Regions from separate parts of the Homo sapiens genome. Here region 2 is linked to region 1. Evidence: promoter capture Hi-C in 16 types of primary human blood cells and fetal thymus (Javierre and others, 2016). All regions are on one chromosome and are shown on one strand. Each heading gives the region's core, a stretch centred on a gene start or on the middle of the fragment in contact. The rest is flanking DNA. Distances are from core to core; before and after follow the strand shown.

Evidence for each region. Contacts are between HindIII fragments. The CHiCAGO score rates a contact against its expected background, and 5 or more counts as called.
Region 2: a contact is called between a fragment that was not itself captured here and the fragment with the promoter of MGAT4A in region 1, in 1 of 17 cell types (fetal thymus). The highest score is 5.3, in fetal thymus.

The regions. Positions count from the first base shown.
Region 1 is chr2:98,728,199-98,735,522 of GRCh38, reverse strand. It overlaps MGAT4A (alpha-1,3-mannosyl-glycoprotein 4-beta-N-acetylglucosaminyltransferase A), which reads left to right and starts at 4,391. Exons shown (of 16, transcript NM_012214.3): 1 at 4,391-4,475. It overlaps LOC107985922 (a long non-coding RNA gene), which reads right to left and starts at 4,242. Exons shown (of 2, transcript XR_007087150.1): 1 at 3,828-4,242. RefSeq lists silencers at 3,443-3,737, 3,844-4,033, 4,054-4,383. The HindIII fragment of the contact is 4,047 bases long and covers 2,401-6,447 here.
Region 2 is chr2:99,478,327-99,485,650 of GRCh38, reverse strand. All of the region lies in intron 1 of REV1 (REV1 DNA directed polymerase), which reads left to right. Among named protein-coding and RNA genes, the nearest start is that of REV1, 8.0 kb to the left of the region's middle. RefSeq lists an enhancer at 6,530-6,609. The HindIII fragment of the contact is 989 bases long and covers 3,380-4,368 here.

The DNA of each region.
Region 1 (7,324 bases), core at 3,142-5,641:
AACTCCATCTCAAAATAAAATAAAATAAGATAAAATAAAATAAAATAAAATAAAATAAAATAAAATAAAATAAAAATAAAATAAAAAGCCAGGGAGAACCTCCTGATGTGATTCCTCTAGCAGGCTTTACACTGGGTCGGGGAAAGAATCTCACTAGAGCTAGTAGCCAAGAAGCCAGAAAACACAATCTTTATAAATATTCATAAATAATGCAAGCTTGATTGTTAATGCATGGAGGGGGCTGGGGTAGAAAAGAAAACTAGAGATTATGTGCTTGAATTCTTAGAAGCTGACTGCTATAGGCATGGCCCCACCAACAGCCATTTACCATCAAAGAGATAAAAGGAAAAGATTCACTCCCTGTGTGTACTCTGCTTTTAGCTCAGATATCACTTCCAGGAAGGCTTCCTTGCCCCCAGATGGCTTAATCCTATCGGCTGTCCCAGAACTGTGCGTTTGTAGCATTGTACTATGGTTTAATTACTTACCCATTTCTTCTACTGTGAGCACTTTGTGGTTAGATAACAGCTGCCTCTGTAATCATAGGCACTCAGAAAAAGTTTGTGGAACAGCAAAAATGTGTGTGGAAAGGAAAACAGCCTCAACATAGAAGCTTTGTTGGGGACAGACTACAAAATAAATGGTAAAGTTCTGGCAGAACCTCTTGGGTACAATTCCACTGAGAAATAAAGGCAGAAACAGAAACTGTAGAAGTAGAGAATAAATAAAAAGGAAGTGATAGAGGAGGAGAATCATCATCAACAATATTAAAAAGAGAAAAAGATATGGAATGGGATTCAGTGGGGTTTGGATGGATTGTCTTTGATTATTAACAGATACTATGGACTTAGTTGGAAAATCCAGGATCATAAACTCTGCTAAGTTAACATGAATCATCAACCAATTATACCCTATACCTTGGAATAATATATTCTATGGCATTCCAGTTTCTTGGGACAACTCACTGAAATCCAGACTTTCCTGAGCTACAATGTATATGGTTTGAGATAAGTGTAACCCTATTTTCCAAAACCTGCCCTTCTGCTGCCAGTTGAAGCAGCAACGAAGTATCAAAAAAGCCTCCAAGTGAAAGCAGTTGTGTTTTTCCTGTACACTTTTTGTCTTCTGCTGTGCTTCCTCCACTACCCAGAGTGCAGGGGAAATTCCGCTTTTTATCTGAATAAGCCGGTGGAGTCTATAACTGAAGTTTGTCCTTCCCCCTATTCCTTTCTCCTCTGACATATGCCTCTGCTTATAGAATGTCTGTAAATGCTTTCATTTCCTTCCTTCACTAAGAGAAAAAACTGGAGAAGGTGAAGAGAAACATCTTTTTTTTTTTTTTGATGGAGTTTCACTCTTGTTGCCCAGGCTGGAGTGCAATGGCGCGATCTTGGCTCACTGTGACCTCTGCCTCCTGAGTTCAAGCGATTCTCCTGCCTCAGCCTCCCAAGTAGCTGGGATTATAGGCACGCACAACCATGCCCAGCTAATTTTTGTATTTTTAATAGAGACAGGGTTTCACACTGTTGGTCAGACTGGTCTTGAACTCCTGAACCTCAGGTGATCTGCCCGCCTCAGCCTCCCAAAGTGCTGGGATTACAGGAGTGAGCCACCACACCTGGCTTTTTTTTTTCTTTCTTTTGAGAGAGAGAGAGAGAGAGAGAGAGAGAGAGAGAGAGAGAGAGAGACAGGGTCTCACTCTGTCACCCAGGCTGTAGTGCAGTGGCATGATCATATTTCATTGCAGCCTGGAACTCCTGGGCTCAAATGATCCTCATGCCTCAGCCTTCCCAGTAGCTGGGACTACTGATGCATGCACACCAGGCTAATTTTTAATTTTTATTTTTTTAAAGACATGGGTCTCTCTCTGTTTCCCCGGCCGGTCTCGAACTCCTGGGCTCAAGCAATCCTCCTACCTCTGCCTCCCAAAGTGCTGGGATTATGGGCATGAGCCACTGTGCCCAGCTGGGAAATATATGTAAAAATATTCATCCACTCAACAAAATTTTGTAACTTGCTGAAGATGTGAGCAGAGAGATAGTCTGGAGGGGTGATGTAGGGGCTCTGGAATCAAACAGACCTGGATTTGAACTCTGATTCAAACATTTACTAATTGCCTAAATTACTGTTTGTATCTGTCAAATGTCTTAATTTCTCAGGGCCTCAGTTTCTTCGTGAATAAAATAGGGATAATAGCTCCTGTTCCATTTGGTCTTTTGGGTAATTCATGAAAATGGCTTGGGGGCATTCTCCATGATGTTATCAAATGGCAGGACTTTCTTCCTCTGCAAGAAGTAGTTTGCTTGTCTGTCATTAAGAGCACTGTAATAGCAAAGCCTAGAATCATCTATTCCTAGGAGATATTTTAGGCAGGATATATCCAACAATGTATTAAAAGCTTTACCTTGGAATGGTCTCAGTCTTTACCTCTGTTTACATCTGGTCATGAATCAAATTGCCAGCTTGCTACTTGGCAATGGCTTTGTCATAGAATACAGGAAACCTGGCTTTCAGGTCCCCAATGTATTCGTCCGTTTTCATGCTGCTGATAAAGACATACCCAAGACTGGGCAACGGACAAAAGAGGTTCAATGGAGTTACAGTTCCACATGGCAGGGGAGGCCTCACAATCATGGTGGAAGGCAAGGAGGAGCAAGTCACTTCTTACATGGATGGTGGCAGGCAAAGAGAGTTTGTGCAGCAAAACTCCCTTTTTTAAAACCATCAGATTTCGTGAGACTTATTCACTATCACGAGAACAGCATGGGAAAGACCCTCCCCCATGATTCAATTACCTCCCACCAGGTTCCTCCCACCACACAGGAATTGTGGGATTTACAATTCAAGATGATATTTGGGTGGGGACACAGCCAAACCGGAAGTAGAGAGAAAACACACTCAAAGTAGAGGGAAGAGCTGTCATTGGATATCATGGCTGTGATCCCCCAAGTTGTGTCCACAGTGCTGGGCAGTGGACAGATCTTTTGGTATGGTTCCCCTAAACTAGTAAGAGACTATGGGAGCAGGGATGTTACGTGTCTCTTCCTGAAGTTTTAAATTAGCCGTCATGGAGAAACCTCAACATGGGAAGGCTGATAACTCCATGCATGTTCTAGCTGATTATTAATTATTCTTATCTTGAGATAAAAATAATGGAATTTATCGGAGGTGGGGAGGGGACCCTGTTCTGATTGATGCCTCTTAAGAGTTTTCGATTATTGAAATTACTGTTTTCTGAAAAGAATCTACTTATTACTTTGGGAGTTTGGCAGGAACAAGGCTGCCTCCTTGATCTTTGGCCCCTCAATTCCCTTACAGGTTACTCGGTAGGATTGCTGTAAGGATTATTGCGGCAATAAAGTTAACACATCCCTTGTTTTTGAACCATTACCAGCTGTGTGACCTTGGGCAAGCCCTTTCACCTCTCAGCTAGTTTCCTCTTATGAAAAATGGGGAATAAATTTAAAACATGAGATATGCAATAAACGATCTAACACCCATGCCTGCTATACGGTTGCCTGCTATACAGTTAAGTATTCAAAAGAGGACGTACCCAGGGGTAGTTACTGTTAGCACAAGTCCTATGGATACTATGAAAAACAGGGACAGACCACCCAGGCTTTCTACAAACGAGTCAGTTTTTTGCCTTTGAAGTTAACCTCTAACCTTGTGAAACGGCGACAGATAAGGACATGGGGTTCAAGAAAACGGGGCATAGTGGAAAATCAGGGGCATTAGCACCCAACGATGTGCGTTGAAACCCTAGTTGTTTTTCTCCTTCCCAGTTGCTGAAATCAGCCCTTCTGGCCGATTCGCGGGGTTCTCACCGGGAAGTTGGGGCTGTCGCGACCGTCCGCGGGGCCTCGGGAGCTCCTGTGGGGCTGGGCCCGGGACCTGTCCCCGGGGAGGCCGCCCAGTTTGGGCGGCCCGGAGCGGGGCGCGCCGCTGGGAAGGGGCCGGGTCGAGGCAGGCAGGCGCCTGGGAGCTGGGGCAGCCCCGGGTGGTCGGGTCGCGCGCCGAGGCGCAGGCCGAGGGCTCGCCCGGGCCTTTGTTGGCCGCCGGAGCGGTCCCTGCACGCGCCGGGAGGATCTCAGCCAGATGTGGCAGCGGGGCGGCGGGGAGCAGGCCGGCGCCCAGAGCTGGGACCCGAGACCGCGGCTCCGCTCCGGACCTCGCCGTGACACCGATGAGCCGGGCCAGCCTCCCGAACGCTCCGCAGGCTGCGTGGCGGCGCCCCTAAGTGACAGTCGCGCGGGCCACTGGTGGGGCGCGGGGCGCGGGGCGCGGGGCCCGCGGGGCCGGCCAATGGCTGGCGGGGTCGGGGCGGCCCGGCGGGGCGGGGCGGGGCGGGCGCTCCAGCGGCGGGGGCGGAGCCGGCGGGGCGGGCGGGGCGGCCCGCAGCGGCGGCGGCAGCGGCGGCGGCGGCTACAGCAGCTCCGCCGGCAGCCGCGGGAGCACGGCGACGCCAGCGGCGGGTGAGGGGCTCGCGGCGGCAGCGGCGGCGCGCGGGGGCGGGAGGGGGCGCGGGGCGGCTGCGCGGAGGGCGCGGGAGTTGGGGGCGGCGCCGGCGGCCGGGCTGGCGGCCCCGGGCTGCGGGAGATCCACCTGCTGGTAAAGGAGCCTACTGCGCCGCGGCCCGGCCGGAGCTCTGTGCGGGGGAGCTGTTGGCGCCTCTGGGCGCGGGGCCGGCTCCGGGAGCGGCTGGGCCTCGGGGGCGGGCGGCGGGGCGCGGGCCGGGCCGTCCTCCCAGCGTCCCTGCCCCGCACCGCGCACCCCTCGGGGTCGCGCGCCCTCTCTGCGGCCGGCTCGGCGCCTGGTGCGTTCCTGGCGCTCCCCGGCGTGGCGGGGCTCGGCGACTTTGGGGGAAAGTGGAGCAAAGTGCTGATCCGGGGGGTGCGGAGGGGGAGGGACAGCTGCCTGTGGGACCCGGGGGCTGCGCGGGAGTCGGCGCTTTCGCGGGGGCCGCGGGGCAGGTGGGCGGGGCCGGACGGTCCGAGGCGCAGGGGCAGGGGCTGCTCCCGAGGGGACCGGCCGTGCAGCCTTCGCAGGGAATTTTCACACAAAGTGAAGGGCTGCGGGGCCCGCGTGAAAGAGCAGCCCCCGTTTCCCCAGGCCTCAGCTCTCTCCGTAATGAGGAAGCTGCAGTAGGACCCTGAGGCTGGGTCTCGGTGACTCCACCAAGTGTGCCAGGTGACATCTCGGAGGCGAGCTTTTCTGAGCTGGCAGTCGAGCCACTTGCACACCCGCCTTTATTCCTCGCAACAGTGTGTTTCTCTGGAGCGGTTTCATTGCCTACATTCCGCATTGGAAAATAGAAGCAGGCACAATGTATGCTTTGAATGCTTTCCACGTATTTTGCTGTTGTGCTTTTGCTGTTGGACAGATTATTTGATAAAAGATAATGACAGTCGTTCGTTGGAACGTAGACTGTAAATTTAGAATAAAAATATGCGTTTTGTGGTTTATGTTTCTTTTTCTGAATGTTTAAAAAACAGTTTGATGAACAGGTTATCTTGACATAGATTTCTTTAACCCACACGTGTAAACCCGAAAACGCACTGGGCGATGACATTACGTAAGCTGTATTAAAGAAAACTACTGACCCGTTTATAAATGGCAAATAAATGAATTTTGCCACAATTGTGGTGTGTAAAGTTATATAGGCTTACGTCATGGATTTTATTGATTCCAGATATCAGGGATTATTGTGCCTTTCATTCTTAAGTCACCTCTACCCTGTCTGTGGGATGCTGATTAAGGAAGATGCCAAACGTTCGGCAAAGTGTTCTCAGCCGTGGACTATATTGAGTATTTCAGAGAACACTTTAAAATAAGTAAAGGTTTTGTATCCAATAATAAAATGAAGACTGAAGCCCTTAAAGGATTGCTAACAAAACAGTCTGATGTCTAGAGTTGAAAGTTCCATTCACCTTTGGGAGGGTGGAGAAATGACTAGCAATTTTAGCCACTACCTTTTTTTGTTGTTGTTAAAGATTCAAACGTGTTAGATTATAGTCTCCGAGAATATTAAGGGGCTAGATTAAAATTTTTGCAAATGTGGACACTAATAAAAATGTGGGTCACCTGTGTCTTACAAGCCAGCCTGTGAATTATGTCTCATAATTGAAGAGTGAGTAGATCCTTGGTTTTACTCTTGTCCGAAGAGTTTCTTCACTTGTGCCGTGCAGTTAAACTTATTAGCTGGGAAACCCTAATTAAAAATGTATGACTACATTCTTACTGAGTAAAACACGCATATTTTTCTTGCAAAATTTCAGGGCTTATTTGCTAGTAGAATTTATTGTAAGTATCTTCAGAGTTTCATAACTTACTGGATCCAGTATTTTTTTTTTTTCATATATTAGGGGTAGTATATCAATAGTTTACTTTGGTTTTAGAGTTCATTTACTTGTCTCTATGCATTTCTACGGAATGTTTTTACAAGCTTTATTTGTATTTAGTAAAACTTTTAAAATATCCTTAACTATATGATGTGCGCTCTACCTCCCCGTTATTATGAATTGAGTGCTTACTCTAATAACCTGTATGCTTTTTAGATCTTTTACTAGAACAAAATTCTTTCTCAAGTAAAATAGGGCTAAGTAGATAGCAGCTGAAAGTTATAAGTATTTTAATATAATGCCACACCGGGATTAATGTTCCAAGTTATATAATTCATAGAATTATCACCCGTGTTTTTATAATCAGAATTCATTATTGGGTGCTTATTGATTTAAGACAATTAGAGCAGTCTTGCTATGAAGTTTTTTTTTTTTTTCAAACTGAGTCTCTGTCACCCAGGCTGGAGTGCAGTGGTGTGATCTCGGCTCACTGCAACCTCTGCCTCCCAGGTTCAAGTAATTCTCCTGCCTCAGCCTCCCGAGTAAGCTGGGATTACAGGCACCTGCCACCACTCCTGGCTAATTTTTGTATTTTTAATAGAGACAGGGTTTCGTCATGTTGGCCAGGCTGGCCTTGAACTCCTGACCTCGGGTAATCTGCCTGCCTCAGCCTCCCAAAGTGCTAGGATTACAGGCATGAGCCACCACACCTGGCCACTGTGAAGATTTTAATTCTAAACTGTAGACGTGGGCATGTTTGATGTTAACTTGTCTTAACTGTAGAAGGTGAATAAGTTCAATCTTAGAGAACAATGATAACTTCTGCATGAGAATATTTTTAGATCTCTTTGTGTTCAGGTAGTAAAAGAGGTTAGGTGCTTCTAGAATATTATGTGGAAGGTAGAGCTGCTGTCTGAGGGTTAACAGGCATAGTTTGGTGGAGGGTTGTGGTGAGGTATTAGCCAAAAGCTACAGGAAGTGGA
Region 2 (7,324 bases), core at 2,625-5,124, 750 kb before region 1:
AGATGCTAAGAGTGATTATCTCAACAACCGCCCACCAGAGTGGCTTTTATAGAGTTCCCTTTGAAGTTCAGCTGGAGATCTGATTGTGGTGATGAAAGGACTTGCTGGAGGCTTCGTGTCTTCAGACAGGAAAGTCCTTGAAGATCCAGTTGAAATATGAGTCTTGTAGTATTTGGGAAGGAAATTTTTATCATCTTTAGTTGTGTTCAGTTTCTCCCTTCTTTCACTGGGTTTTTCCCCTCAGATTATATTTGGTTATTAATTGGAACTTAAAGTAACCCAGCTGTGCTCTGTATCTTTCTGTTCTTTTCATAATGATTTATTTTTCTTTAGCAGATACAGAAATAAGAGAAGAAAGAATTGATGGAGACAGTGACTTTGTAATAATAGATATTTTCAGCTAATACAACTTGAATTATTCTCATAAACTAAGATTCTGCCTGTGGTAATTGAACTTGCATAATACCAGTTATTTTAAATTCACTTGTCCTTAGTAAAATGCTTCTTTGTAGGATTGTTATTTCATTTCTCAGTCTGAACTTTAACAAGTAATAGGATCCTAAACCCTAGGTGTAAATTTTTTTTTAAAAGTCAAAGGGCTGCTGCTTTGTGTAACATTTCTTCCAAAATTTAATAATTGTGAGTTATTATTTACTGTGTGCTAGGCTCTTTCCTAGGTGCAGTGTCTTAATTAATATCTACAGCTACCGTATAAGGTTGGCACCATTATAAAGAAACAGATTTAGAGAGGTGTTGTTATTTGGCTGGTTACACAAGAAAGGAGGCAAGATTTCAGGCCAGTTCCCGAGGTCATAACCGGTCTGCTGTGGGACACCTTAAAATGACAAGGTTTTTGTTTGGAAGCTTGCCGTTAAATTTATCTCATTATTTGTGAGTGTGTGTTGTTAACTACTGGCAGCTTCATCATTATTTATGGCTAATTTTTTGTTTTTTTTTTAGATTTAACTACTACTACTATACTTAAATGCTTGTATTATAAGTGAAATGTTTTAATAGGATGATGACTTGCATCGTAATTAATGTTTTTCTCATATTTAAAAGTCATTAAAAATAAGTCAAAGAATCATGTGTCTTGGTGCTTCAGCTTTGTAAATAGTTTGAAAAGGTTTTGCATATAATACATTAGATTTAAGAAAACATAAATGTCTTAAGTTTGCTCAGGGCTAAATTGGAGGTAGCAAGTAAATATTTAGTAAAAGTTACTAGTGATGTGTTTCCTGCTGACTATGGGGCAATTTTTTTTTTAAACTTCTATCTTAGGTTCTGGGGTACATATGAATGTTTGTTATATAGATAAACTAGTGTCATGGGGGTTTGTTGTACAGATTGTTTCATCACTCAGGTATTAAGCCTGATACACAATAGTTACTTTTTCTGCTCGTTTCCCTCCTCCCACCCTCCACGCTTAAGTAGACTCAGTGTCTATTGCTCCCTTCTTTGCGTTCATGAGTTCTCATCATTTGGCTGCCACTTGCAAGTGAGAACATGTGGTGTTTGGTGTTCTGTTCGTGTGTTAGTTTGCTAAGGATAATAGCCTACATAGGAGATCTTTACCTGGATCTCCTTCAATAAGGAGGAACACATAGGTGGGATGTTTTTACATAAATTTTAATGGTTTCTGACATTTCCTTGCAAGGCTTTTTTAATTTGTAAGAATATCTAAATTATGAGTTATTGGCTTCTCAACACCTCAGAATGTCAGGGGTAGGAAGAATCTTACAGACTCCAGAGGCAATGCCATTATATCTTACTGGAGGAAAGTGAGACCCCAAGAGTCATTTGCCTGCTAAAGAGGAGAAATAAGATGAGACCCTAGGTTTTCCCCCCAAGGCCATTTTTTCCCCCTGCTACACCAAACTGTTCCCTGCATTACTGAGGGAAAGACCAGCAACACTTAGTATCTCATATTCAAGAGGGTGGAAAATAAAACGATATGTTCTTGTAAAATTACGATTTAAAGTCTTGATTTTATCATTGGAACATAATAGAAAAAAATTTTGTCCTCTATTATAATGCAGTTGAAAATGATACTTTCTCATATAGGCAGGAGACTGCCTTATCCACATAGGATGCTTTGAGAAACCTTTTAAAGACTAGTCGGGTCCCATGGCTTTGTGCTTGAATTAAAATATTAGGTAGTGATGGGCAAAAAAAGTTGGTTGTGATGTGAGTAGTTCGTATTCAAACTCATAGCCTATTAAGCAAAGTGTTGCTTACTGACCTCAGTCATTCCTGATCATACCCAAGGCTAAAATGAACTTTTTGGAGGTTTAGTCACAAAATAATGGCTGCATCTTACATTCTCTAAGCTCCATCATTTCTACATTTGCTATTTCTAGGAATGGACTTAATGCATTTTTATCTTTTAGGCACTGGTCTGAGTTATGTAGTTGAAACTACTTAGATTTTTTGCTCTTTTAAATGGTTTTCATTAAGTTCTGTATTTTACTCATAATAAATTCAATTTCTTGATGACTCCTTAGCTTTTTATTTTAAGCCTTTTTTTTTAAAGCATTTAACCTGGACAGTTCTGAACTTTACAAATGTTTTAACAATTTCTTCTTCAATATCTTAAAGACCGTAACAAAAAAAAAATTTTTTTTTTTTTTTTTGAAACGGAGTTTTGCCCTTGTCGCCCAGGCTGGAGTGCTATGGCATGATCTTGGTTCACTGCAACCTCCTCCTCCCAGGTTCAAGCGATTGTCCTGCCTCAGCCTCCCAAGTGGTTGAGATTACAGGCACCTGCCACCACGCCCAGCTGGGTTTTGTATTTTTAGTAGAGACGGGGTTTCACCATGTTGGCCAGGCTGGTCTCGAACTCCTGACCTCAGGTGATCCCGCCTGCCTCGGCCTCCCAAAGTGTAAATTTTTTAATACAGAATTTTTTCTCATGATAATCTTCTCTGTGTCATTCCAATTTTAGTGTATGTGCAGCCGAAGCAAACACAACGTTTTATATCTTAAAGAGTGCTTTTACCTAACTTTTTTCTCATTTAATTCTCTTAAGAGTCCTGGGAAGAGAAGTAAGGCAGCATATCCTATTTTATAGCTGTAGTGTAATTTGGGCACCTGCTACCCAGAGTTAGGTAAGGCATCGTAAGTTAAGGGTACAGTCTGCAAGACTCTCCTCACTTCTTATATTAGCTACAAACTCCAGGACTTGCAGGTTATCCACACTCTGACCAACTGGCTACAACTTTCGGAGTTCCCACTACACCTCACGTTTGATAATTTGGTAGAATGACTCGCAGACCTCAGGAAAGTGCTGTTCTTGGAATTACAGTTATGATACAAATCAGGACCAGCCAATTAAAGAGACACATAGAACAAGATCTGGGAGGGTCCCAAACATGAAGCTTCCATGTCCTCAGGACGTGTCATCCTTCCAGTACAGCAGTGAATGATTGCCAGCCAGGAAACCTCACTTACTCTACAGCATCTGGAGTTTTTATGGGACTTTTATTACATAGGTATGATTGAACTCAGTCCCCAGTCCCCTTCTCCCTGGAGGTCAAGTTGTTAGGCTGATGTCAGGTTGCTCAAAGCCCAACCCACTATTCACATGGTTGGCATTTCCAGCATGGCCAGGCCCCATCCTGAAACTAGGGGCCTACTGGGAGTCACCCTGTTAATAGAAACTCAGCTGTGGGCCAAGGAGGACCCATTATGGATTCATGGATAACAAAGACACTCCTATCAGTTGGGAGACTCCAAGAGTAGAGTTTTCCAGGAATCAGACAATGGCCAGTCAAATTTTTTTGTTTTTGTTTTTTTAGGGACGGGGTCTCACTGTGTCACAGTGGTGCTATCATAGCTCACTGTAGCCTCCAGCTTTCAGGCCAAAGTGATCCTCCTGCCTCAGCCTCCCCAGTAGCTAGGACTACAGGCACACACCACCGCACCTGGCTAATTTAAATTTTTGTGTGTGTGTGTGTGTAGGGATCTCCCCATGTTGCCCAGGCTGGTTTCAGACTCCTGGCCTCAAGTGATCCTCCTGCCTTGGCCTCCCAGAGTGCTGGTATACAGGCATGTGCCACTGTGCCTGGGCCCCAAATTCTTTATTACACAATGCTGGCTAAAGAAGTGAGAACAGACACTTGCTCAATTTATGACAGCTAAAACTAGTAGTAGTGATAGTAACCCAGTTACCTCTGTTGTATTAAAAATTGGAACAGGTTGCATTTGAATATGGATAGAAGGATTGCCTTCTGTTGAGAATTACTACATAACATTTTTTTTATTGATACAATATAATTTAAAACTTGGGTTATTCACTTGAGTTAAATGTTTTAATTACATAAATTTTGTAGCTTGGGTTATAAACTGTATACTTGATACTTTAAAGCTTAATAATTGGCTGTAAAAAATCTGAATTTTGGTATTGGTCTTGAATTTGTACTTTTAGATGTACGTAATTATTCATTAGTTATTTGGAAGAAGAAATTATGAAGTGAGATATTTATGGGTAGGGTGGAGGCATTGATAATCTATTTGTGTTAGGGTTGTAAAATGTTTCAGTAACTTAATTGCTGTTTTGAATTTTAGCACTTGAGTCAAAGTTACTAACACTTCAAGTTTACTGTGTTGGAGGTTAATATTCTTTTGCATATTATTTATGCCTAATCTTATTTCAGATTGTCACTTGAAGATTATATTGAATTATCTTGGAACTCACTGTTCCTCAGAGATTATAGTGTGCTAAATTGTTACATTGAATAAGACTTCTGGTGTCTTGAAGAATGTAGCATGTTGTAATGTTTTTGTTTTTTTAAAAGTATATAATTTTAAATATATTCTTGGTGTAAGCAAGGGAAAATTCCAGAAGCAGTGACAACTTCTGCTTCCTTTATGTTTATTTGGAATTACATTTAATAGAAGCATTTGTGAGAAAAGGGATTTGTGAATGCTGGAACTGATAGCAGGTCCAGAAAAAAAGAGTTTGACTATATTTTTGAATTGCAGTTGCTCTGAGGGATTTGTTTTTAGTTATGTGTCATTGTTTATGCCAGTTACCTTGTGAGTTCAGAGATCTAATGACTTGTGTGGGTGGAATGCACAAGGTGAGGACTTCTGCTAAGATTTATACGTTATGGTGTAGGCTAGGCTCAGGAGCCAGAAACTCTCCCACCCAATTTACACTTGCTTAAAACTTACAAAGTAAGGTTTAAACTTCTTAGTATGATATATTCAAGGCCTTCTGTTATATTTCTCCACCTACCTTAGTTTGTCTACCTCTACATCTGGCCATGTTCCTACATACTGGTAAGTTCTAGAATGTTGTCCTAAACATCTTTTTGTATTTTTTATGAGGCAGAGTCTTGCTCTATAGTCTAGGCCTGAGTGCAGTGACGTGATGATGGCTCACTACAGTCTTAACCTCCCAGGCTCAAGCAGTTCTCCCATCCCACTCTCCCAAGTAGCTGTGGCCATGGGCGTGCACCACCATGACTGGCTAATTAAAAACAAATTTTTTGTGGAGACAAGGGTCTCACTTCATTGCCCAGGCTGATCTCGAATTCCTGGGCTTGAGCAGTCCTCCTGCCGTAACCCCGCAAAGTGCTGAGATACAGGTGTGAGCCACTGCACTCGGCCCTTTTATGTTTTTAATTATGAATTTTTCTTCTTCCTGAAATCTTTGCCTTCATGTCACCCCTTCCCACCTACCTTCTATCCTACCTTCTATCCTGTAAAATCCTACTGATTGTTCTTAGTTCAGATCTACCTCTCAGTGATGCTTTCTTGGGTGTCTTCTCGAACATGAGATTTATGGCTGTTTTCTCTGTGCATTTATTGCATTCCATTAGTGCCTATAATGCAGGATCTTGTATTATTATTATTATTATTATTATTTTTACTTTTTTGGTCTTGTTCTGTCTCCCAGGCCAAGTGCAGTGGTTCACTGCAGCCTTGACCTTCCAGGCTCAAGCGATCCTCCCACCTCAGCCTCCTGACTACAGGTGTGTGCCACCATGCCTGGCTCTTTTTATTATTTTTATTTTTTTTGTAGAGATGAGGTCTTGCTGTGTTGCTCAGGCTGGTCTCACGCAAGAGATCTTCCCACCTTGGCCTCCAAAAATGCTGGGATTACAGATCTCATATTATAGTTATATGCAAATCTCTGATAACCTTGGATTGTGGTTTATTCTCATTTTACTCACCTTGAAAACTATAGATTATAGTAAATTCTAAGTGAATGGAGAAAAACCATTAGCTCAGACCTGGAATTTGGGGTAAGGGGAAGTGGGGGGCAGGACAGGCGAGATTTTGTTGCCTGTAATCTTTTTGTTTTTTTTTTTTTTTTTTGAGACAGAGTCTCGCTCTGTCACCCAGGCTGGAGTGCAGTAGCCTAATCTCGGCTGACTGCAGCCTCTGACTCCCTGGTTCAAGCAGTTCTTCTGCCTCAGCCCCCAAGTAGCTGGGACTACAGGGGAGTGCCACCACACCTGGCTAATTTTTTTATTTTTAGTAGAGACGGGATTTCACCATGTTGGCCAGTGTGGTCTCGATCTCCTGACCTCGTGATCCGCCCACCTCGGTCTCCTAAAGTGCTGGGATTACAGGTATGAGCAACTGTGCCCAGCCTGTCGCCTGCAATCTAATTAAAACCTTCACCTGGTGAATTGCATTACTCCTGATGTGAAATTCATTCTACTTAGGACACGTTGTAGCATCATTCTCTCTACTGTATATAACCTTTCTCGTTACCACTGAACTGTCCTTTTCTCTATTATCACCACTATAGATACATTTTTAGGTACAGGCAAAACCAGTGGTTCTCAAAGTGTGTGCCGCAGTCCAGCTGGAAATGCAAATTTCCAGCCCTGCCCTAGACTCACTGAATCAGAAACGTTGGAGTTGGGGCCCAGCATCTTGTGTTTTAACAGGCCCTGTGCTAGTGATTCTGATGCATGCTCACGTGTGAGAATTACTGCTTTAGATATATTTCCCTCTTCTTTGATATTATTTCCTTTATTCTTCAGCTAAGTTCTGTTCTTCCTGTTACTAGCTCTTCTGCTGTGGCCTTTGGAATCCCTGATTTATTGCAACCTTGAACTTTTCTACAGATAATCATTTGGCTTTCCTGTGAGATTATACCACTTCTCCTTAGTGAAGATCAGTGGCTTCTTCCTCCTTCCTCTAGACTCTTAATTTTTATCATGTCATCTCTAGAACATTCTTTTGTGTTCCTTCGTAGCTTGATCCTGCTTATGGACATGCTGACTTTGAGATGTGTAGAACATCCTAGTGGAGATGCTTAATAAATGCAATTGGGCCATGTGGTTTGGAACACAGGAAAGCAGGA